7 separate regions of the Homo sapiens genome follow, and all the other regions are linked to region 5. The links are contacts of gene promoters, found by promoter capture Hi-C in blood cells and fetal thymus (Javierre and others, 2016). All regions are on one chromosome and are shown on one strand. The core of a region is centred on a gene start or on the middle of the fragment in contact, and the rest is flanking DNA. Distances in the headings are between cores, read along the strand shown. Region 1 overlaps APLF (aprataxin and PNKP like factor). Region 2 overlaps APLF (aprataxin and PNKP like factor). Region 3 overlaps APLF (aprataxin and PNKP like factor). Region 4 overlaps GFPT1 (glutamine--fructose-6-phosphate transaminase 1). Region 5 holds the start of GKN1 (gastrokine 1). Region 6 overlaps APLF (aprataxin and PNKP like factor). Region 7 overlaps APLF (aprataxin and PNKP like factor).

What was found. Contacts are between HindIII fragments. The CHiCAGO score rates a contact against its expected background, and 5 or more counts as called.
Region 1: a contact is called between a fragment that was not itself captured here and the fragment with the promoter of GKN1 in region 5, in 5 of 17 cell types (total CD4 T cells, naive CD4 T cells, M2 macrophages and 2 more). The highest score is 6.3, in total CD4 T cells.
Region 2: a fragment that was not itself captured here is called in contact with the fragment with the promoter of GKN1 in region 5 in 12 of 17 cell types (non-activated CD4 T cells, activated CD4 T cells, total CD4 T cells and 9 more); the score reaches 9.6 in non-activated CD4 T cells.
Region 3: a fragment that was not itself captured here is called in contact with the fragment with the promoter of GKN1 in region 5 in 4 of 17 cell types (activated CD4 T cells, naive CD8 T cells, total CD4 T cells and 1 more); the score reaches 8.1 in activated CD4 T cells.
Region 4: a fragment that was not itself captured here is called in contact with the fragment with the promoter of GKN1 in region 5 in 1 of 17 cell types (M1 macrophages); the score reaches 6.4 in M1 macrophages.
Region 6: a fragment that was not itself captured here is called in contact with the fragment with the promoter of GKN1 in region 5 in 4 of 17 cell types (naive B cells, non-activated CD4 T cells, total CD4 T cells and 1 more); the score reaches 6.0 in naive B cells.
Region 7: a fragment that was not itself captured here is called in contact with the fragment with the promoter of GKN1 in region 5 in 1 of 17 cell types (activated CD4 T cells); the score reaches 5.5 in activated CD4 T cells.

Annotation. Positions count from the first base shown.
Region 1 is chr2:68,504,007-68,507,164 of GRCh38, forward strand. All of the region lies in intron 3 of APLF (aprataxin and PNKP like factor), which reads left to right. Among named protein-coding and RNA genes, the nearest start is that of APLF, 38 kb to the left of the region's middle. The HindIII fragment of the contact is 2,210 bases long and covers 302-2,511 here.
Region 2 is chr2:68,486,799-68,489,992 of GRCh38, forward strand. All of the region lies in intron 1 of APLF (aprataxin and PNKP like factor), which reads left to right. Among named protein-coding and RNA genes, the nearest start is that of APLF, 21 kb to the left of the region's middle. The HindIII fragment of the contact is 1,449 bases long and covers 1,219-2,667 here.
Region 3 is chr2:68,580,057-68,583,126 of GRCh38, forward strand. It overlaps APLF (aprataxin and PNKP like factor), which reads left to right. Exons shown (of 10, transcript NM_173545.3): 10 at 1-106. Among named protein-coding and RNA genes, the nearest start is that of PROKR1, 62 kb to the right of the region's middle. The HindIII fragment of the contact is 1,344 bases long and covers 823-2,166 here.
Region 4 is chr2:69,351,177-69,354,314 of GRCh38, forward strand. It overlaps GFPT1 (glutamine--fructose-6-phosphate transaminase 1), which reads right to left. Exons shown (of 20, transcript NM_001244710.2): 9 at 3,083-3,136. Among named protein-coding and RNA genes, the nearest start is that of GFPT1, 34 kb to the right of the region's middle. The HindIII fragment of the contact is 7,303 bases long and covers 1-3,138 here.
Region 5 is chr2:68,973,122-68,976,216 of GRCh38, forward strand. It overlaps GKN1 (gastrokine 1), which reads left to right and starts at 1,515. Exons shown (of 6, transcript NM_019617.4): 1 at 1,515-1,568. The coding sequence starts at 1,557. The HindIII fragment of the contact is 2,059 bases long and covers 78-2,136 here.
Region 6 is chr2:68,536,347-68,539,524 of GRCh38, forward strand. APLF (aprataxin and PNKP like factor) reads left to right here. Exons shown (of 10, transcript NM_173545.3): 7 at 1,526-1,881. Among named protein-coding and RNA genes, the nearest start is that of APLF, 70 kb to the left of the region's middle. The HindIII fragment of the contact is 8,077 bases long and covers 1-3,178 here.
Region 7 is chr2:68,469,737-68,472,654 of GRCh38, forward strand. The region is part of intron 1 of APLF (aprataxin and PNKP like factor); the gene reads left to right. Among named protein-coding and RNA genes, the nearest start is that of APLF, 3.6 kb to the left of the region's middle. The HindIII fragment of the contact is 2,738 bases long and covers 149-2,886 here.

The DNA.
Region 1 (3,158 bases), core at 157-2,656, 470 kb before region 5:
TATCATTACTGCTACTACAGACCTTAGAAGAATAATGAGGAAATATTACGTAAAACTTTATGCCAATAAATTTGGCAGTTAAAATGAATGGGTACATTTCTTAAAAAACAAAACTGATGCAGGAAAAATAGAAATCTGATGAATTCTATATTCATTTTAAAAATTGAATTCATAATTTAAGTATTTCCCATAAGGATCTTCACTAATGAATTCTATTAAACTTACAAGGAAGAAATAATGCCAATATTATTCTTTTTTCTCAAAAAATAAAAGAAGATATACTTCCCAACTCATTTTATGAAGCTTCTGTAATTTAGAAACTAAAATCAGACAAGATTTTACAAAAAACCCTCAAAACTACAGACCAATATTCCTCATAATAAAGTATTTACAAATCAAATCCAGCAATATGTAAAAAGGATAATACTCTATTACCAAGTGGGGCTTGTCCAAGGGATACAAGGTTAGTTTATCGTATAAAAATCGAAGCAATTCACCATAACAGACTAAAGAACTATCATTTTAATAGATGCTCAAAAATAATTTTGACAAAATTCAACACCTCTTCATGATTTTTAAAAGTTTTGAGAAAACAAGAAAAAGAAGGAAACTTTTTTCCTACAAAAAACCTATTAGTGAAATGTTGAAAGTTCTTCCCCTAAGATTGGGAATACAACAAAGATAAAATATATCAGATTTGAAAGGAAGAAGTAAAACTGTGTTTATTTGCAGATGACATGATTTGTATTTAGAAAATCCTTAGTAATCTACCAAAAAGAAAAGCAAGCCACAAAAGTGTCTATTATATGATTACATTTATATTAAGTTCTGTAATAAGTAAACTAATCTGTTAAATAGAAATGTAATCAATGGTTGTTTCCAAGGGGATTGACTAGTAAGAAGCTACAAAGGAGCTTTTTGTTTGGCTTTGTTTCAGCTTTTAAACAAATATGGACATATTCTGTGTCTTGTTAAGGGTGCAGATTATGTGGGTGTACGCATTTGTCAAAACTAATCAAATTTCACACTTCAGATATGTGCATTTCATATATAAATTATATCTAAAAATGCTTAAATGTAAGTGGAAAAAAATGTCAGGAAGTTGCTTTTTAGTTAAATGAAATTCATTAATCATTGCTTACTACTTTAAAGTACATGTCTTTTTCTCTTATCATACATGTATGAAGCGTGCTATTTAAACTAGCTGTTGAAATGAGACATGTAAAGAACTGATTTTTTTGTTACAATAAACTTTCATAATAGAATTACATACTTTTTTCAAAAATTAGGAAAATGTGCATCCTTATGAAACACAATATGGTCATTACCTGATAACTTATTTAAGCTATTATATGTCTATTTAAATTTCATTTATATTGATTCAAATTAGCTTATTCCCTTAGTGTGAAAGACCAGTGTCTTTAGGGCAAGTGTCACACTTTAAATTTATCAGGTTATGGGATTAGTGAATTTTGAATTTTTTCGTATTGATGAAACTGAAAATAAACCCACTTTCACAGCACTGTACTTTTCTCAGGCTATTTAAACCTTGGGTTCTGTCATTTGCTAGAAGGGCTCACAGAACTCAGGAACAGTTTACTTACTAGATTACGGATTTATTACAAGTGCTATATTACAGGATACAAATTAACAGCCAGATGAGAAGATACATAGGGTGAGGTCTGGAAGGATCCCCAGCACAGGAGCTTCTGTTCCAGTGGAGTGTTGGGGTACACCACTCTCCCAGCACATGGACATGTTCTTGTTCACCAACCTGGAAGTCCTCTGAACTTTGTCTTTTTGGGTTTTTATGGAGGCTTCATTACAAAGGCATGATTGAGTAAATCATTGACCAGTATGATTAAGTCAATCTCCAGCCCCTTTTCCCTCCCTGGTGGTGAGGCTGGGAGTTCCTACCCTCTAATCATGATTGGTTTTCCTAACAACCAGCCCTTCATCTTTAGAGGCTTTCCAAAAGTCACCTCATTAACATACATTCAGGTGTGGTTGAAAGGGGTATATTGTGAATAACAAAAGACGCTCCTTTCACCTGTTTCAGAGCTCTAGCCAGGAACCAGAAGTGAAGACCAAAATATGTATTTCTTACTATATCATACCATCACAGGCACATTCTTGTGGTTTCTGCCATTAGCTAGGTCCTGTAGCTTCTTAGTGAATATTTAGTTTCCTATTGAAGCAAGGACAGTACTTCTGTAGTCAGGTAATGATGAGTTAACCCTAGTTATTAGATTAGAAGCCATGAGGGGAGGTGGGGGCAGATCTTGAATTGCAGTATCATCATGAGAGATGTCTACCCGGGGGAGGCAGCTGCCTGATTTCCAGAGAGGGAGAGTCCACTGTCTGCTAGCAAGGGGAAGTGGACTATGTATTAGATAGGAAGCATTGAAATACACTTCTAGACGTTTCTTGATATCGTTGGGGTTTTCCTGTTTTTGAACTAGCTCTGTTTTGCAGGGTCAACCACATAAAAACACTGCTTACTGTTGTACAAGCTTTACATGTATGAACTTTTTATTCTCCATAATAATCTCTATGAGGACTAGGTATTGTTAATATCCCTATATGACAGATGAAGAAATTGGGACACAGAAGGTTTAAGACTTGCCCAAGGTCACAGCTTAATACATGGCAGAGGTGGGATCCAAACTCAAGCCAGCTGTTTCCAGAGTTGATGCTCTTACTAACTACCCTCTGCTGTATGAGAATGTTTACTATAGCACTCATTTGAATTGTGAAAACACCTGCAGAAAGGCTAAATAAATTTGGTGTAGTCCTATAACTATATGAAAGAGAATGAACTAAGAGAGAGCTCAGGTTAAAACATGGATAAATCTCCCTACCATAATGTTGAGGGAAAAAACCCAAAAAGGTTATAAACATATAAAACATACATAATTTCTATAAAATAATGGATGCATATATACAAATAATGAAAGTATAAAGACATGCATAGGAATAATAAATATCAAATTCAGGCTAATGTTTACTTTTGGAGAAGGAATGGGAGGGAAGGAGCAAGATTGAGGCTGGGCATGGAGAGGGCTTGAATTGTATTTGTAATTAATCTGGAGCAAATATGAGAAAATGTTTCTATCGGGGTGGTAGATACACAAGTATTTATATTCATAGATATGTAG
Region 2 (3,194 bases), core at 693-3,192, 490 kb before region 5:
TTTTTATGGCTTTCTAAGATGTGAAATATCTGACTTTCAGTTGAAGTTTTAATTTAAACTTGGTGACTCTTGGTAATCAGTAAGTAAACTTGGGCAAGCCTTCAGTATATTTTGAAGTAATTTATGCCATTTGTCCTACCCTAAATGGCCTCTAACCAGTGTATTCTTTTTGAGTCCCTGGGTTTCTTTGCTTTTTAGTAGCCTTTCTCTTTCCACTTGCAGACCAACATCAGTCATTTTCTTCTGTTGTCAGTGTGCTGTCTACTAAATCCTATCCACTTTATGAATAGAGAATTAAGAATTTGGATGACATATCTTGTTAGACTTAGGTATGCCATTAGATAAGCAGGACCAAATGAAAGCCTGAGGGCCTCTTGGAGCTTTATTTAGGATCTGAATCTCCTCTGAATGTCTATTTGGTTATTAAATAGCCATTTCTGCCTTATTTCCAGTTCTTTACTGTGTTCTAGTTTGACAGTTAAACTGGGTAAATCATCTTAAAAACAGGTTTTGCTTTAGGTTTCATGTAATGATATTGAGGGATGCAATACAACGTTAAGAGCATGAATGGTTCTGGAATCTGATTCCTTAGGTTCAGATCCTGGCCCTACTACTTATTGGTTGTGTAACTGAGTAGTTGCTTAAACTCTCTGTACTTCCATTTTCTCACCTATGAAGTGAAGTATAATAATAGTATCTTCACAGATTTTGTGAAGACTGAAAAAGATGATACATGACAAGTCTAGAATGGTGCTTTGGTGTTGATAATTGATTGTTATTACAGTTGATGTATTAATAAATAATAAAAATGTGTTGGATATTCACTCTGTATAAGGAGCAGTGATAGGCTGTTAAATAAAGCAGATCATCAGATCTTTAGGATAATCTGTTTGTCACTTGCTCCCCACCCCTCTCCGTATATCAATCGTGACATTAAAATGTTTTAATGATAATTTATTAAACCTTTATGCTTCCCATTGAGAAAGTGCAAATGGTTATTTTATTGTGTATTCACTATTTAGGGTTTTACTTTAAAAGGAACACTATAAATGTCTGAGTGATGTTAATTTCAAAGATTGTTTATAGCATTCTTTTTGTATTCTATAAAGACACATAGCTTGTAATGAAATTACACTGTTGTGGAGTTATGTGTCCACTAGAGGTCACATTATACTTTTATATTACTTAAAATGTCTTTTATCTTCGTAGTGTCAGTGAAGCTTACTTCAAAGAAAGACAGAGATAGGAAAAGTTCATGTATTGCTTCCTGAAAAAATACAGTTTAAAAAAGGAAAGAAAGAAATTTAAGATGGACTGTTAAAGGAACCAGCTTTATATGCCATAGTTTTATATTTGATAGCTTATTACTCTGTTGGTTAGAAAATTGGTTCGTAGTATGGAAGTAACAATGAGATTTTGGTACCCAAGTCAGAAATAGGAACTGCTTACTCTCAGCCGCATTTTTTGAAATTACTTTTGAATGATTACATGTAGGTACAGTCATGTATAAATGTGTTCTACATTTATTATCTTTTTTTTTTTTTTTTTTTGAGGCAGGGTCTCACCGTGTCCCCCAGGCTGGCATGCAGTGGCACGATCATGGCTCATTGCAACCTTGACCTCCTGGGTTCAAGCAATCTTCATACCTCAGCCTCCCAAGTATTAATATTTGGGACTATAGGCACATGCCCTCTGTCCAGCTAATTTTTTACTTTATGTAGAGATGGGGGTCTCACTGTGTTGCCCAGGCTAGTCTTGAATTCCTGGGCTCAAGGAGTCTTCCCACTTCAGCCTCCCAAAGTGCTGGGATTGCAGCCACCACACCCTGCCTATTACCTATTTTTATTAAAAGGAGTGTGGATTTGGAGTGCTGCCTACTTGGAGAGTGACCTACCCAAGTTACCTAAATTCTCTGGACTTTCAATTTCTATGTAAAGTGTTAATAATAGCTATGGCAATGTTATGTTGAATCACAACATTTAAGTGAAAGTTCTGTGCAAATGATGCAATGAGTCATCAGATAACTGCTGTTGTTTTTAGCCTACTAAGGTACAATCTGATATACCTAATGCTAAATGACGAGTTATTGGGTACAGCACACCAGCATGGCACATGTATACATATGTAACTAACCTGCACATTGTGCACATGTACCCTAAAACTTAAAGTATAATAATAAAAAAAAAGGTACAATCTGGGAAAAAGAAAGGAATCTTTAAATTTTTAGCCTCTTTTTTTCTGAAACAATAGATTATTAGTTTGTACTTACTTCTTGGATAGCCATTGTGGCTAACAATAGATTGTGAAAAATTCATTCATGTGATACTCATTCCGATGCTTGATATTACTGTCTATATGTTACAGCCTTAAGTGTGGAACAGCTATCTGGTTAAAAAAATGAGTACTGACTCCTGGCAGTTTCACATTTTTTGTGGAACTAATAGGTTTAATTGAGTTTATGTGTTGGTATGGTCTATTTTTTACTGATAATTTTGGTCCTTATGCGGATAATGCCAACATTCAAGTGCTGAATATCAAGGTTACCAAGAGATGGGTCAGGTAGTTATGGTGTTATTGAAGTTGGTGCTTAACATGTTTTCATTATCTATCAATCAACCACAAATAAAAAAGGCAATCTTAACTATTGTATTTACAGTGAAAAGGGAAAGCTTTGATTGGCACTGTCAGCATTTAACATGCAAACAATTTTTGAACTTTGGTATGTGGAAATGATTGTGAGCCTAAGTAGAACACTGTTGGCTCAAAACAGGAAGCAAATAGATATTTTTAAAAAATGCTAATTTATTTCTTACTGAAAATGTTTGGTTTTCACTATTCCCCTTCTTGCCTTCCTGAACTCTTAACTGCTGCTGATGGCCCCAGAGTTTGCATGCAGTTCTGCCTGATCTGGGTCTCTTTGACCCCAAAGCCTATAGTCAGACCCTTTTACACTTACCAGATCCTCGAGCATGGGATCTCTTCCTTTTAAAACCTTTATCATCATGACATACTATATGTTTCTTGTATTTGAAATGTTTTCTGGTAAGTACATATTATATACAGACTTTTCGTATTTTATGAATTTTCTTGGTAAGAATCCCCAGTAGATGTCTGTCATGAATGGAAACTATCATGCAAGGTTTTGGGATCCGTTAGATTCTAGGCTTGAGGCTCTGTTGTTGACTCTTCCATGA
Region 3 (3,070 bases), core at 245-2,744, 390 kb before region 5:
TCATGGTAGCTGCTTTTAACGATACAGTTTTAATGCAACTTTCATAATCATCCTGAAGACACTTTTGAGTATAACTATTGTATAAATAAATGTATAGCTTAATTGACTGAAGTGTAATGAAAATGAAAGTGTAATTGGACTGTGTTTAGATCTGTGTTTTCCAAAACAGAGGGAAAACCGGTAACATTAGGCTGTCAGTGGTCTCAAGAGCACCATTAACAAAGCTTGATTTTTTAAATTAATTGCTGTTCTATACAGTGGATAAGAGCCAATTCTCCCTGTCATGGTGTTCCTGGAACTGAAACTATATCCCAGCCTCCTCTGTCATGGTAAAAATTATCATATATACATTTCTCACCTATGTGCCTAATTTTAAAAGCAAATATTTTCTGGCTAAACTTTTGAGGGGGGATGGGTTTTCTAGGACCCTGGGAAACTGGAGACCTGAAGAGTTTTGGGGGACACTTGAACACTGACTTTGGTGTTTTCCCCTGGTTGAGGATGGCCCTATTGATACTGAGTTTCTAGAACTAGAGGATCCTAAACATTCATTGTAATGAAAGCAGATAGATTGTGAGCATAATTACTCCAGAATGTTGATGTAAAGCTGAGAGTAAATGGGTAGTTTCTTACAACTAATTGTTCAGTGTCACCAGCACACCTCACTGAGGGGGAAACTGTCCACCAGCACGCTGCATCCAGCCCTGCTCTGTGAGACCACCTCATTCCCATTCAGTCTCTTTGTTGGCCAGGAGTCCATAATGGTGTGTGCATGTGGGGGAGGGGGATCTTTTCCTGCCAATCTACAAACCTAGCCTACAAAGCTTCACCTCTACAATATGTACTGAAAGTAAAGTGATAAGGAATAATTATGATTGAGATTATTATTGGCCACCCTAATATAATGTACATAATAAACTTTATCATCATAAACAACCACATTTATACTCTGTTGTGCCCAAGATACTGTCTTAGGTGTCAGCAATTCAAAGAATAACATAGAGTCCCTATTTTCAATGTGCTTACTCTCTATTCTGGACAATAGGATATTTATTCATTCAGTGACAGTGACTACTAAATACCATGAAAGATACAAAAAAGAAAAAGAAATGGTATCTACAGTAAAAGATTTTACAAAGGCAATGAGGCAAGCATTCAAATAACATAGTGGATAGAATGGGACCAGTCAGAGAAGGAGAAGCTAGAGTGTAACAGAAATACCCCTCTGGCTGTATACTGAAGTATATACAGTCTCAGTCATGAGAAAATCTTGGTGTGATTGAGTTGCAGGATGAACTAACAGATTTTTTTATGGAACAAAATTTTTACTTGAAAGAATGACTGGCAGACATATTATGATTATTCAAACTTCAGTATTTGGCAGATGTTTTATCAAACATGAACTAAATGAGCCCTGTTTTCAAGGAAAACAACCAACAGTATTTGCTGTAATGCTGAAATTTGAGCTTTTAAGCAAAAATCAGAATTTTGGAAGAACTTGGATTCATCACCATTAGCTTGATAGCTTTTCAAAACTCTAAAAACTATTCTGATGATATTGTAGGTGATATGATATAATAAAATGTATCAATATTTGGAAGAGCTGCAAAACTTAGTAAGCCAACATTTTCCACATAACCAGTGTATGATGTTATAAAACCAGGCATGGGTAAGAGATCCAGTCAAAGTGTAAGATGAAGCAATGGACTTAATGTAACAGAGTCTGTTAAGTTCATTAATATGGTTTCAGATTCCATATTTCAACTAATCTTCCAGAAACTGCAATTTGTCTATTTTTGTGACATCAAGAAGAATATCCACCATTACCTGAAAAGCCTATTAAAATACTCCTTCCTTTTCAACTACATATCTGTGTAAGGCCTGGTTTGCTCCATGTACTTTAAGCAAAACAACATAGGAGAGCAGATACAGGAATCTACCTGTCTTCTAGAGAAGACAGACATTAAAGAGATTTGCAAAAATGTAAAACAATGCCATTCATCTGACTAAATTCTTTAAAATATATAATTATTTTTTATAAAATACATGTATCAGTGTGTAATGGGTTTACTCTTCTTTTTAAGTGAATTACTAAATATTTTAAAAATTTCTCAATTATAATCTCCAGTATGGTAACTGTCTACAAATACGACCCTCATAAACAAAAGCTTTTTGGGTTTCTCAGTAATTTTTAAGAGTGAAAAGACTCCTGAGGCTGAAAATTTTGAGAACCACTCCAGTAGGTCACTGTGCCATTCAGTTAGACTAGTTATGCTAGGATAACCCCAAAATCTCAGTGTCTTAACACAAGGAACATTTTCTTATGCCAAGATTTTCTGTGTTGGGTGACCCTCTAGGGCACTGTCTTCCATGTAGCAACTCAGCATTCCAGCATTTTACAGTCTCTGCCTTCTTGCAGTTGTATCATCTGGATCGTGAGACCTTCTTAATCATGACTGCAAGGGAATACAGAAAGTAGAGGGTTATAGTGTAATTAAAGGCTTCAGGCTGAAGTGACATCACTCCTGTTTGCAGCTCATTGGCCAGAAGTAATTACATGGCTTTAACCACTAGAAGGGGCTTGGGAAGTACAGTCTTATGGGTGTCCAGAAAAGATGAGAAACAGAGTGAACACTAGTAATGTCTACCACAGTCACCAAAGGAGTAAGTGGTAAAAGAGAGTTGAGGACAAGATATTTAGTGTCATAATTTAAGGGATAGGAAGATAGATAAAAAGATTCTTCAGAGGAATTAGAAGAAGAGGAATGTTAGGAACTTTCTGTGTCACGGGAGCTGAAAGTAGAATGAATATTAAGAAGGAAGAAGTAGTTAATATTGTCAGTTGCTATAGAATGGTTACACACCTAAGAACTGAGATTAGATTTAGCTTCCTACTTCACTGAGATAATTGAAGCTATTCAATGAGAACTTTTACAAACTCTCACCTGCATCTACCCACCTACCAGCTATTCTCAAATTCTTTATCTTCTCCCCCGGTATTATAGATAAATTGTTTATTATTTTATTTAAAATCATTTCCCTAGATCCAGGCATCTCTTACGTGCTTAAG
Region 4 (3,138 bases), core at 639-3,138, 380 kb after region 5:
ATAAAGTAGGGTCTTTTTGCAAAGCTAATATCCTTTTAATTCTTGTATTTCAGAATTATGACACCTCTACTTAATTTGTCAAGACATTAATATTAACTTTTTCATCAAAACTGGAATGCTAAGGTTTTATAAATTGGCCTTATATAGGAAAAAAATCTATTAGTTGAAGACTACATAAATGTCCTAGAGACAAAAATGCACCTTTCTTCAAGGCCAGGACATAACAGAACTTAGAACTATGGACACAATAGCCAGAGAACATCACAAGTATACTTATAAAAACTGCTATTTCATCTATCCTCTTAAAATGCACATATAAAGGCAGACTTGATAATTATCAGAAATGTGCATTCAAATGTGCTATTTATCCTGAGCTGATCATTATACATTGTACACATGTATTGAAATATACACCACATAAACATATAATTATATATCTATTAAAAATAAAAGCCAAAAAAAGTATATTCGAAGTTTTCCACCATCTGTGATTATTTGATGTTTTAGTGATGAAAACAAAGTAACTTTTCCCATTCATATTTAACAGCAAAGATGCCAAACTGAAAAATAAATGTAAGATGACATCCAAGAAAAAGTAACATTATAGAAAAATAACATATTAGTGTTTGCCAGGGGCTGGGAATGAGACAAGGGTTGATGACAGAGGGCAGGTTGAGGGACCTTATTGAGTGATGAAATTGTTCTGTATCTTGATTATGGTGGTACTTATGCAATTTCGCATCTGACAAAATTGGTGAAACTACATGAAAAAGAGTAAATATTACTGTATGTTAAAAAACAGAGACCAGGCACAGTGGCTCATGCTTTTAATCCCAGCACTTTGGGAGGCCGAGGTGGGCAGATCACTTGAGGTCAGGAGTTCAAGACCAGCCTGGCCAACATGGTGAAACCTCGTCTCTACTAAAAACACAAAAAATTAGCTGAGAGTGGTAGAGTACACCTGTAGTCTCAGCTATTCCGGAGGCTGAGGTGGGAGAATCGCTTGAACCTGGGAGGTGGAGGTTGCAGTGAGGTGAGATTGTGCCATTGCACTCCAGCCTGGGTGACAGAGCATGACTTTGTCTCAAAAACAAAACAAAAAAGTGAATTTAAAAACACATAAAAAGAGAGCTCAGCATTTTAAAAAAATAAATGCAACCAGGTGTGGTGGCTCAGGCCTGTAATCCCAGCACTTTGGGAGGCCGAGGTGGGCGGATCATGAGGTCAGGAGTTTGAGACCAGCCTGAGCAACAGCCTGAAACCCCGTCTCTACTAAAAATAGAAAAATTTGCTGGGTGTGGTGGCACGTGCCTGTAATCCCAGCTACTCAGGAGGCTGAGGCAAGACACTCGCTTGAACCCGGGAGGCCGAGGTTGCAGTGAGCCGAGATCACGCCACTGCACTACAGCCTGAGCAACAGAGCGAGACTTCGTCTCAAAAAAAAAAAAAAAAAAAAAAAAACAACTACTTTTGCTTATAAAATGTCCTAATAGGCTTGAGTTTCACTGTGTTTTTTCTCCAAATATTGATAATTTCATTCTTCAAATAACAAAGTATATTTAGTTAAAATATGTAAAAAAAATTTGAGGCTGGGTGCAGCGGCTCACACCTGTAATCCCAGCACTTTGGGAGGCCGAGGTGGGCGGATCACCTGAGGTCAGGAGTTCGAGATTAGCCCGGCCAAAATGGCGAAACCCCGTCTCTACTAAAAATACAAAAGTTAGCCGGGTGTGGTGGTGTGCACTGGTAGTCCCAGCTACTCTGGAGGCTGAGGCATGAGACTCGCTTGAACCCGGGAGGCAGAGGTTGCAGTGAGCCAAGATCATGTCACTGCACTCCAGCCTGGGCAACAGAACAAGACTGTTTCAAAAAATAAATAAATAAGGTAAAAAAAATTTGAGATATCAATGTCTGTTTAAATGAAAAGAACACTTCTGGGCTGGGCACAGTGGCTCACACCTGTGATCTCAGCACTTTGGGAGGCTGAGGCAGGTGGATCACTTGACTCCAGGAGTTCAAGAACAGCCTGGGCAATATAGCAAGACTCCATTTGTACAAAAAATTTAAAGTTAGCTGGGAGCCAGGCACAGTGGCTCATTCCTGTAATCCCTGTAATTTAGGAGGTTGAGGTGGGAGGATCCCTTAAGCCCAAGAGTTTGAGACCAGCCTGGCCAACATAGCAAGACTTCCTTTTTACAAATAAAAAAATTGGCTGGGGGTGGTGGCACATGCCTGTGGTCCCAGCTACTCAAGAGGCTGAGGTGGGAGAATCACTTGAGCCTAGGCAGCCAAGGCTGAAGTGAGCCATGACGAAACCACTGCACTCCAGCCTGGCTGAGAGAGCAAAACCCTGGCTAAAAATAAGAATTAGCTGGGTATGATGGCACACGCTTGTAGTACTAGCTATTTGAGAGGCTGAGGCAAGAGGATCCACCTGAGCCCAAGAGTTCGAAATTGCAGTGAGGTATGACCATACCACTGCACTGCACTCCAGCCTGGGCAACAGAGCAAGACCCTGTCTCCCCCTGCCGCTCTATAAAAAAGTTACATCGAAGTAAATAAATAAGAAAAACAAAAAATAAACTTTACACATAAACAATATAAAAGAACAATCACTACAAATTCAAATAAAGCCAATCAAGATAGCAAATGTAAATCCAACAATATGTCATGTATAAAAAATAAAGACCACTTAAACATATTTCAGTTAAAAGTTAGCCTAAATGATTCAAATAACTACCACTTAGTCAATCTATAATAACCTAGCACACAATGCTCTTTTCCTAATCTAAGCATACATCCTACATGATTTTAAAACAAAGGAAAAAATAATTTACAATTTCAACTATTTTCTCAAATTTCAGAAATTTTAATGAAATTATTAAAAGCACTTTCTAAATGCCAAAAGCAGACACGCAAAATATACTCCGCAAATTAGAAAAATGTCAAAATATGCTTCCCCACAAAATAAGCACATTTTTAGAGGCCCAGCACATTCATTCACTCCAAGAACAAAAGAATTAGTAAAGAATAAACAAAAGAGGATAAGATCCTCCCCATCCATGCAGAGTGCATTTCCCACCTCTTTCTCCCTGTGATCCCCACCGTGTGAATTTTGATCCAATCTGAGTCCTAGCT
Region 5 (3,095 bases), core at 265-2,764:
AAAAAATATCCAGTAATACTGCAGCTGTTCTAATCCACTCCTACCAACAGTTTTGAAGAGATGTTGATAGCGAATCAAGCTTTATAACCATGTGATCCCATCTTATGGTTTCAATCCATGCACAGGAGGAAAATTGTGGGCACGAAGTTTCCAAAGGGAAAATTTATAGATTGGTAGTTAATGAAATACAGTTTTCCTCCTTGGCAAATTTAATTTACTAGCTTCACTGTATAGGAAAAAGCAGGAAAAAAATTAAAACCAACTCACCTCCAAACCTGTTTTGAGCTTTTACTTGTCTGCCCAATTGATAGTTTCTACTCTCTGCTTTTGATGAAAATATTTTTTATTATTTTAATGTAACTTCTGAAAACTAAATTATCTAGAAGCAAATAAAAAGATATTGCTTTTATAGTTCCCAGAAGGAAAAAACAAACACTAGGAAAGTTCTATCTATCAGATGGGGGAGATGTGATGGAGGCAGTGATATTTGAGCTGAGCCTTGAACAATGAACAGGAGTCTACCAAGCGAGAGGCTAGCGGGTGGCCCTCCAAGATAAAACAACAGCATGTACAAAGGCATGGAGACATACACATCTTGACTTTTCCAGGAATGGTGGGAACGCTGGTGGAGCTAGAATGTAGGTACATAGCATAAAGTGGCAGACGGGAAGCCTTTGGAAATCTTATTACATAGGACCCTGGATGCCATTCCAATGACTTTGAATTTTCTGTAGGCTGCCAGCGAAATTTCCAAGCGTGATAGAGTCATGTCTATCTATGCACTTCAGAAAGACAACCTCAGGGTTAATGAAGAAAATGCATTGGAATATAAGAAACTGGTGACCAGAGTGATCAATTGCATGACTGTTGTGAAAGTCCAGGTGAGGGGAGCTGTGGGCAAGGTCAGAGTTGAGAGGCATTTCAGAGATAAAATGACAGTAACTAAGTAGATGTCAGACTGAGAAGAAAGGGCTGTACCAGATATATGGTGCTATCATTAAGTGAGCTCAACATTGCAGAAAAGGGGTAGGTTTGGTGGGAGTTGCTCACAAAACATGTTTAGTCTAAGCAAAACCATTGCCATGGGCTCAGATAAAAGTTAAGAAGTGGAAACCATTCCTACATTCCTATAGGAGCTGCTATCTGGAAGGCCTAGTATACACGTGGCTTTTCAGCTGTGATTTTGTTTGATTTTAGGGATTATTCTTTTTCTGAATCTGAGCAATGTTAGCGTGTAAAATACTCACGCCCACAGCTTTGACTGGGTGAGAAGTTATCATAAATCATATTGAGTTTGTTGTGATACCTTCAGCTTCAACAAGTGATGAGTCAGGTCAACTCCATGTGAAAGTTCCTTGCTAAGCATGCAGATATTCTGAAAGGTTTCCTGGTACACTGGCTCATGGCACAGATAGGAGAAATTGAGGAAGGTAAGTCTTTGACCCCACCTGATAACACCTAGTTTGAGTCAACCTGGTTAAGTACAAATATGAGAAGGCTTCTCATTCAGGTCCATGCTTGCCTACTCCTCTGTCCACTGCTTTCGTGAAGACAAGATGAAGTTCACAGTGAGTAGATTTTTCCTTTTGAATTTACCACCAAATGATTGGAGACTGTCAATATTCTGAGATTTAGGAGGTCTGCTTCTTATGGCCCCATCATGGAAAATTTGTTTTAAAAAAATTCTCTCTTCAAACACATGGACACAGAGAGGGGAACAACACACACTAGGTCCTGTTGGGGGGTGGAGAGTGAGGGGAGGGAACTTAGAGGACAGGTCAATAGGGGCAGCAAACCACCATGGCACACATATACCTATGTAACAAACCTGCACGTTCTGCACATGTATCCCTTTTTTTTAGAAGAAGAAATAATGAAAAAAAATCTTTTTTCTATTTATATAATCATGGCATTTATAAGCATCTCTATAGAGAAGGATAATTGTGCTGAGATTAGACAGCTGTCTGAGCACCTCACACTGACCTATTTTTAACAAAATGACTTTCCGCATCACCTGATTCCGGTCTCCATGCAGGGTAAGCAGTTCCTAAGCCCTAGAAAGTGCCGATCATCCCTCATTCTTGAATTCCTCCTTTTATTTACCAAAATTCCTGAGCATGTTCAGGAAAGATGAAAAGCTTATTATCAAAATAAGTGGCTGAGATAGACTTCTTGTCACATTTGTTACAGTAAAATGGGTCTCCAAGAAAGAAAGATTTGCCTTGGGCTCTAGCATGGCCATTTATTTAAGAAAGCATCTGAAACATGAAGCTACCACAGCATCTCTCCTGTGGTTCCAGACAGAAGCCTGAGAGTCTAGGAGGAGGTGGACCGAGAAACCCTGCCAAAGTAACTAGTAGTGCCGGGTTTCTCACAACACGATGCAAAGGGGCTAGAATCAGATGACTATTTTCATGTTTCAACATACTACACACTGGAAAACGTTACGGCAGACTCTACTTTATAATGGGGCTGCAAATGTAAAATGACTACCTAGAACTAGGTCCTCTTAATAGCAGCAAAGTTTAAAAGGGTCAGAGGGAGCTCCAGACACAGGTTAGATTTGATTTCTCTCCTAGTTCTGCTGTGAACAAGAGGTATAAGTTTGGCCAACTCACTTAACCCCTGAAGCTCAGTTACCTTATCTGTAAAATGATTGCATTGTACTAGGTGTTCTCTAAAATTTCTTCTACCTCTGACTTTTTAGGAGACTAATTTTTAACTCCTTTTTAAGCTATTGGGAGAAAAATTTAATTTTTTTTCAAAAGTTACCTTGAATCTCTAGAGCAGTTCTCAAAACTATTTTGTCCCAGGCAAAGGAAATGAGACTAGGTACCCAGAATGAGGCACCCTGCATAAAGCTCTGTGCTCTGAAAACCAATGTCAGGGACCCTGTGATAAATAATTAAACCAAGTATCCTGGGACACTGCTAGTGACATCGCCTCTGCTGATCACTCTTGCCAGCGAGACACTCTATACTTGCTTTCTCATCATTGGCATCCAAACTGCCTACTAATCCATTGCTTTGGAAAGTTTTTTTTAATAAAAAGATTATTTCTATTAGGAAGAAAACATCCCATGTTAAATAGGAAAA
Region 6 (3,178 bases), core at 587-3,086, 440 kb before region 5:
TTTCTTAAAAAATGAAATATCTTCTTAAGAAATTTAAGCTATTGAATATTAGGTCATGTAAAACCAGCTCTTTTTCAGATGGCATCCAGCATACATGAGTCTTTAGTTATAAGTGGAAGCAAACATTGATGTGTATCTGGTATGTTGTTATCACATCCTAGAAATGGTTACCAGGAGAACTGGGGTATATCTGAGCATTGTTTCTACTCCACGGGAAGTATAAGTAATTAAGGGGTCATTTTTAACAGAATAAGACCAGGCTTATTGTTTGTGCTGTTGGTAAGTACAAATTATAAAGGTTCTGCAGTGCTAATGAGAGTATTTATTTGGTTCAAAGCACCTTCAGTTTGGTTAAACTCAAAACTTTATTAAGACAAATTTAAAGGAATCCTATCTTTTTCCAAGTTGGTCAGAACATAGCTTTATGCAAAATTTTCCGTGAGGGCAAAACAGTTTTGTCATTCAGCTATGGTAAAATCATGATTACATTTAGAGGGCAGAAATAAAGTATTGCAGTAGCTTAGAAGAAATTATAAGGGGCTAGGCATGGTGTCTCATGCCTGTAATCCCAACACTTTGAGAAGCCAGGGCAGGCAGATCACCTGAGGTCAGGAGTTCGAGACCAGCTTGGCCAACAGTGAAACCCCGTCTCTACTAAAAATACAAAAATTAGCTGGGCATGGTAGCATGTGCCTGTAATCCCAGCTACTCGGGAGCCTGAGGTGGGAGAATCACTTGAACCTGGGAGGCGGAGGTTGCAGTGAGCAGATATCGTGCCACCACACTCCAGGTTGGGAGACAGAGCAAGACTCCATCTCAAAAAAAAAAAAAAGAGAAATTATAAGGACCGTGCATGTTAAGAACATGACTCATTGTTGAACAGTGACATTTAAGAGAAGTTAAAGATTCAAATGAAAGCAAATGTCTTCTCTTATATTTTATTTGTATTTTCTGGTTATTTTTCACTGAATGTTTGACATGATTGTAAAGGTTTGATACAACTGTAAATTTCTTTTCTTTCCTTTTTTTTTTTTCTTTGAGATGGAGTCTTGTTCTTGTTGCCCAGGCTGGAGTGCAATGGTGCAATCTCAGTTCACTGCAACCTCTGCCTCTCAGGTTCAAGCGATTCTCCTGCCTCAGCCTCCCAAATAGCTGGGATTACAGGCACCCACCACCATGCTCAACTAATTTTTTGTATTTTTTAGTAAAGACGGGGTTTCACCTTGTTGGCCAGGCTGGTCTCAAACTCCTGACCTCAGGTGATCCACCCGCCTCAGCCTTCCAAAGTGTTGGGATTACAGGCCTGAGCCACCGTGCCTGGCCAAATTTCTTTTCAAAAAACTAAAAATGTTTTAAGTTATTAAACTAAGCGCATAGAAAATAGTGGCATTTAAGAACTTTAAAATGTGAATCTTGAAGTTTTAAGTTTACATTTTGCATGGATCTTGTAGTTTTGTGCTGTTATGCTCATATCTTTTTAAAAATGTTTCATTTATTTCTGATGTTTTTCATATTTGTTTTACAGGAAATGCCACAATCATTTTCTGCAATCACATTAAGTAACACAGAGATGAATAATATTAAGACTAATGCACAGAGAAACAAACTTCCAATAGAGGAACTTGGTAAAGTTTCTAAACATAAAATTGCCACTAAAAGAACACCACATAAAGAAGATGAGGCAATGAGCTGTTCTGAAAATTGTTCGAGTGCCCAGGGCGACTCACTTCAGGATGAGTCTCAAGGGTCTCATTCTGAGTCCAGCTCTAATCCCTCCAATCCTGAAACTTTGCATGCAAAGGCAACTGATTCAGTTCTACAAGGTTCTGAAGGAAACAAGGTCAAGAGGACATCCTGCATGTATGGGGCAAACTGCTATAGGTAAAATGAAATTACAGTAACATTTAATTCCATTATTTTGATAGCGTGTAGCTATGTAGATACATGCTACAGTATATTAAAAACTTAATAAAACCCACTGGCCTAAAGGTTAGGGGCTTTATCGTGTTTCTACTATTTGTACTTCCTCAGTATATTTTCTAGAAAATCCTTTTAAGGCTTTTAAGATACAGTGGGAGAATTAAATGTTTTATATATAGACATGCTGACTAATGTGAGGATCTGAATACTGGGGAATCCAGACATGAAGACTGAATCCCCCAGATCTAAATACCTGTTATTTAGTCTTTTCTTAAATATTAGAGAGATGGCTTCCTACAGAGTTGTTGTCTACAATATAACTATAATTTTAAGTTGTATTTAGGTGTCTTTTCTTTATATTTTTGTAATGGTGCTTTGAATCATCATGGTACCCTGTAAAACAACTGAATATAATAATCCTGGATTGATGGGTTGCTCCTATACTTGCTTCATTTATTTACACTGCCCTATATACTCTAATTTCTTATTTTGAGAATTCAAATTATAATCTCTTAGTTTTAGGCTATACTTTCATCCATAGTGTTTATAGTAACATGTTTATAATTACATAACCCTATTTCAGAAAGATTTCTTGCCATTCCAACTTGCCAAACCAAATATCCTAGCAATCCTTTCCAGTAGTTTGTCTTCTGTGTCAATAAGACACTAGTCAGCATGTATACATATAAAACATTCAGTTCCCCCCACTGTATCTTAAAAGCCTATAGCAGGATTTTCTAGAAGATAGATATCTTTATTGCAATAGTATATTTTAATATATTCTGTTAATTTCACATTCATATTCTCTTTAAAAGGTATTGCCATTTTAGCACTTGAATAACTCATATTTTAAAATTTGAATAGTTCTGATTTATGCTTTTTGAAACATTTTTGTATATATGCAATGGCTTTAGTTCCACATCTGGACCATAATGTAAAAACTTGCAGAATGGAAGTATATATACCTTCTGTTACCTTGGATTGTATTAGTTTGCCAGGGCTGCCATAACAAAATACCAGATTGGGTGCTTAAAAAACAGAAATGTATTTTCCCATAGTTCTGGAGGCTGGAAGCCCTAGATCATGGTGTCAGCAAGTTTGTTTTCTCCTGAGACCTCTTTTCTTGGCTTGCAGACTGCCACTTTCTCACTGTGTCTTCACATAGCCTGTTCTCTGTACATGTACCTTCCTGGTCTCTTTTCCACATCTTGTAAGGACACCAGTTATATTAGGTTGGGCCCCACCCTTATGACCTCGT
Region 7 (2,918 bases), core at 268-2,767, 500 kb before region 5:
AGTGAGATTTATTTTTGTATTGTGAGAGAGCGAAGACTGAGTTCTAAGTGGAAAACTCAGTAAGTTCATTGTAAATTGGAATCGGAAACGATTAATATAAATAAGGATGATTTTGAACTTTCTTAATTGGGCATGTTTTTCTGAGACAAGCTTCACAAACCTTGATGGCCACACAAACATAAAAGTTTATAATCTGACTGTGTAAAATAGTCTTGGTAGTAAAACAGTTTGACAATGAGAATGGTTTTGTATTTTTATGGTGGTAGGAAAACACAACAGAGAAACCTGTCACAGAGAACAAAGGACAATGAAATTTAATCTTTCTTGTTCCCTTTGCTTTCATGTGAGTCATCAGAGAACCCCAGGTCTTTGTTTACTAGATTTTGATTCTGCTCCATGATTGGCATCAGTTAGAAGGTTTTACAGCAGGATTAATCTTCAGAGAACTTGAGTTAAAACAGCCAATCCAAAAGATTACATATTGTGTGATTCCATTTATATAACATCATTGAAATTGCGAAATTGCAAAATTTCAAAAATGGAGAACAGATTAGTGGTTGCCAAAGGTTAAAAAATTAGGCAGCAGGGCAGAAGGGAATGGATATGGCTATAAAATAGCAACATGAGGGATATTTGTGGTGATAGAAATGTGCTTTGTCTGGACTGTGTCAGTATCAATATCTTAGGTTGATATATTGTACTATAGTTTTGTAAGACGTTACCATTAGGGGAAACTGGATAAATGGTACAAGAGATATTTCTATATTATATCTTTCAACTACATGTGAATCTACCATTATCTTAAGAAATTTAATTTAAAAGGGTTTTACAGTACGACATGTCAAGCACTGTTAGGCCAAAGTATTTGCTTTATGGGTTTTAATTAAAGCTGTTACACTCTTAAATGAAATCTACTATTTCTGATTTCAGATTTTTCTTATTTTGTTTTGACAGCAGGGATTATATGACACATTTCTTTATGATCTATTTTCCTCCTAGGAAACAAGATAGCAAAAGATATCTAGTGATACTTTCTCAATGTAGATGTAATTAAATTGACTGCTTTGATTAAAAGGAGAAGAGTCCTCAGTTGGGGGAACAGGGAAGGTCATAGGCTTCAGTATAGACTCTTCAGGTGGCATCAGTTCACCACTTCTAAGAATGTTGTAAATGTTCTACAAAGTTTACACAAAGTAACCATCCCCTGACCTGGCAGCTCTATACTTTTAACTGCTTGTTGCAGAATCCTGGCTGTCCTGGAATGCTGTTCCTACCTGCTCCAACATAGGTTTCTTCCCTTACGTTTCTTTTATTTCTAGATTTGCCCTTCCCTCATTTTATTATTTAGCCTACAACCAGTGCCTAGCACACAGTAGGCCTTTAACACGTGATTTCTTCCTTCCATTTCGGCATCTCAGCCTCTCATTCACTCTACCCTCAAAAAGAGCCTAATTGTGACTTAGATATGAAAAAGGGTTATCATTGAGTTTTGAAGTGAATTTAAATATAGTAAAGATGCAGTCCTACCAACTGCTAAATCTTGAGTAGCATTCATAATGAATTAAGTTTTAACATTTTTCCTGTTTTGTTGATTGATAATTCGCTAAATTCAGGAAATAGCTGATAAATATATACTATGGTTGGATGGGAGGGAGTATAGGAGAAATAAAGGTGAATGAGAAACAAGTCTTTGCTCTCAAGAAACTTATAGTTTTGTAGGGTTAAGAGACAAATAAACAAGTATTAGTAACTAAATAAGGCTACAACCTCACATGGGGACTGGCGCCAGGCTGACACTTGGAGTAAGCGAAGTGGGAGGGAAGAAGAAAAACAACACAGGGACAGTGATAAATGACAACAGTTCTGCCTCAGTGTTGGGAAGGCCACAAGGAGAGGGTCTCTATGCAATCCCTGCTACTTTCCCCTATTCCCAGTTGGTAACAGTGTCATATTGTTTTTTTAAGAATAGTAAGAAATTTGAATTTTTAGATATAATCACTGATTTTTAAAAGGTCACATTTTTATTAAAAGTTTTGGTTAAATACCATGAGTCTGTTGATGAAGAGTTAAATTCTATAAAATATTTCAAGAGATTTATTCTGAGCCAAATATGAGTGACCATGGCCCGTGACACAGCCCTCAGGAGGTCCTGAGAGCATGTTCCCAAGATGGTCAGGGTACAGCTTGGTTTTTATATATTTTAGGGAGGCATGAGACATCAATCAAATACATTTAAGAAATACATTGGTTTGGTTCAGAAAGGCAGGACAACCCAAAGCAGGGGCTTCCAGGCTATAGGTAAATTTAAACATTTTCTGGTTGACAATTAGTTGAGTTTATCTCAAGACCTAAGATCAAAGGAAATGTTCAGGTTAAGATAAAGGATTGTGGAGACGAAGTTTTATTTTGCAGAGCTCTCAGATAGCGGACTTCAGAGATAGCAGGTTGTAAAATGTTTCTTATGAGACCTGAAAGAGTGCCTGGCTCTTAATTGATTATCTCCTGGATCTGGAAAGGAAGGAAGGAAAACAAAGGGGAAAGGGAATTCTCTATAGAATGTGGGTTTTTCCCACAAGAGACTTTGCAGGACAGTTCCAAGGTATGGCAAAGAAATATATTTTAGGGTAAAACATTTTGATTTTCTTCCTTGTTATGCCTGAGTCAGACTGGAAAGTAAGTCACGTTATACAGGGTTAAATAAAACTCATCTGATGAGAATTTATGGTTTGTAGGGCATGACTCCCCAGACCCCTTAGAAAGGAATTTGGGCAAGATAAAAAAAAATAATAATCAGAGCTTAGTCCTCAAGCTAGACAGAATGATGTCACAGGGTACAGAGAGGTATAAGAAGGAACCTGAAGTTAAGAGGTGGGATCAGGGAAAGAAAGCTTCATGAACTTGGTAGCATGTTGAGTTTG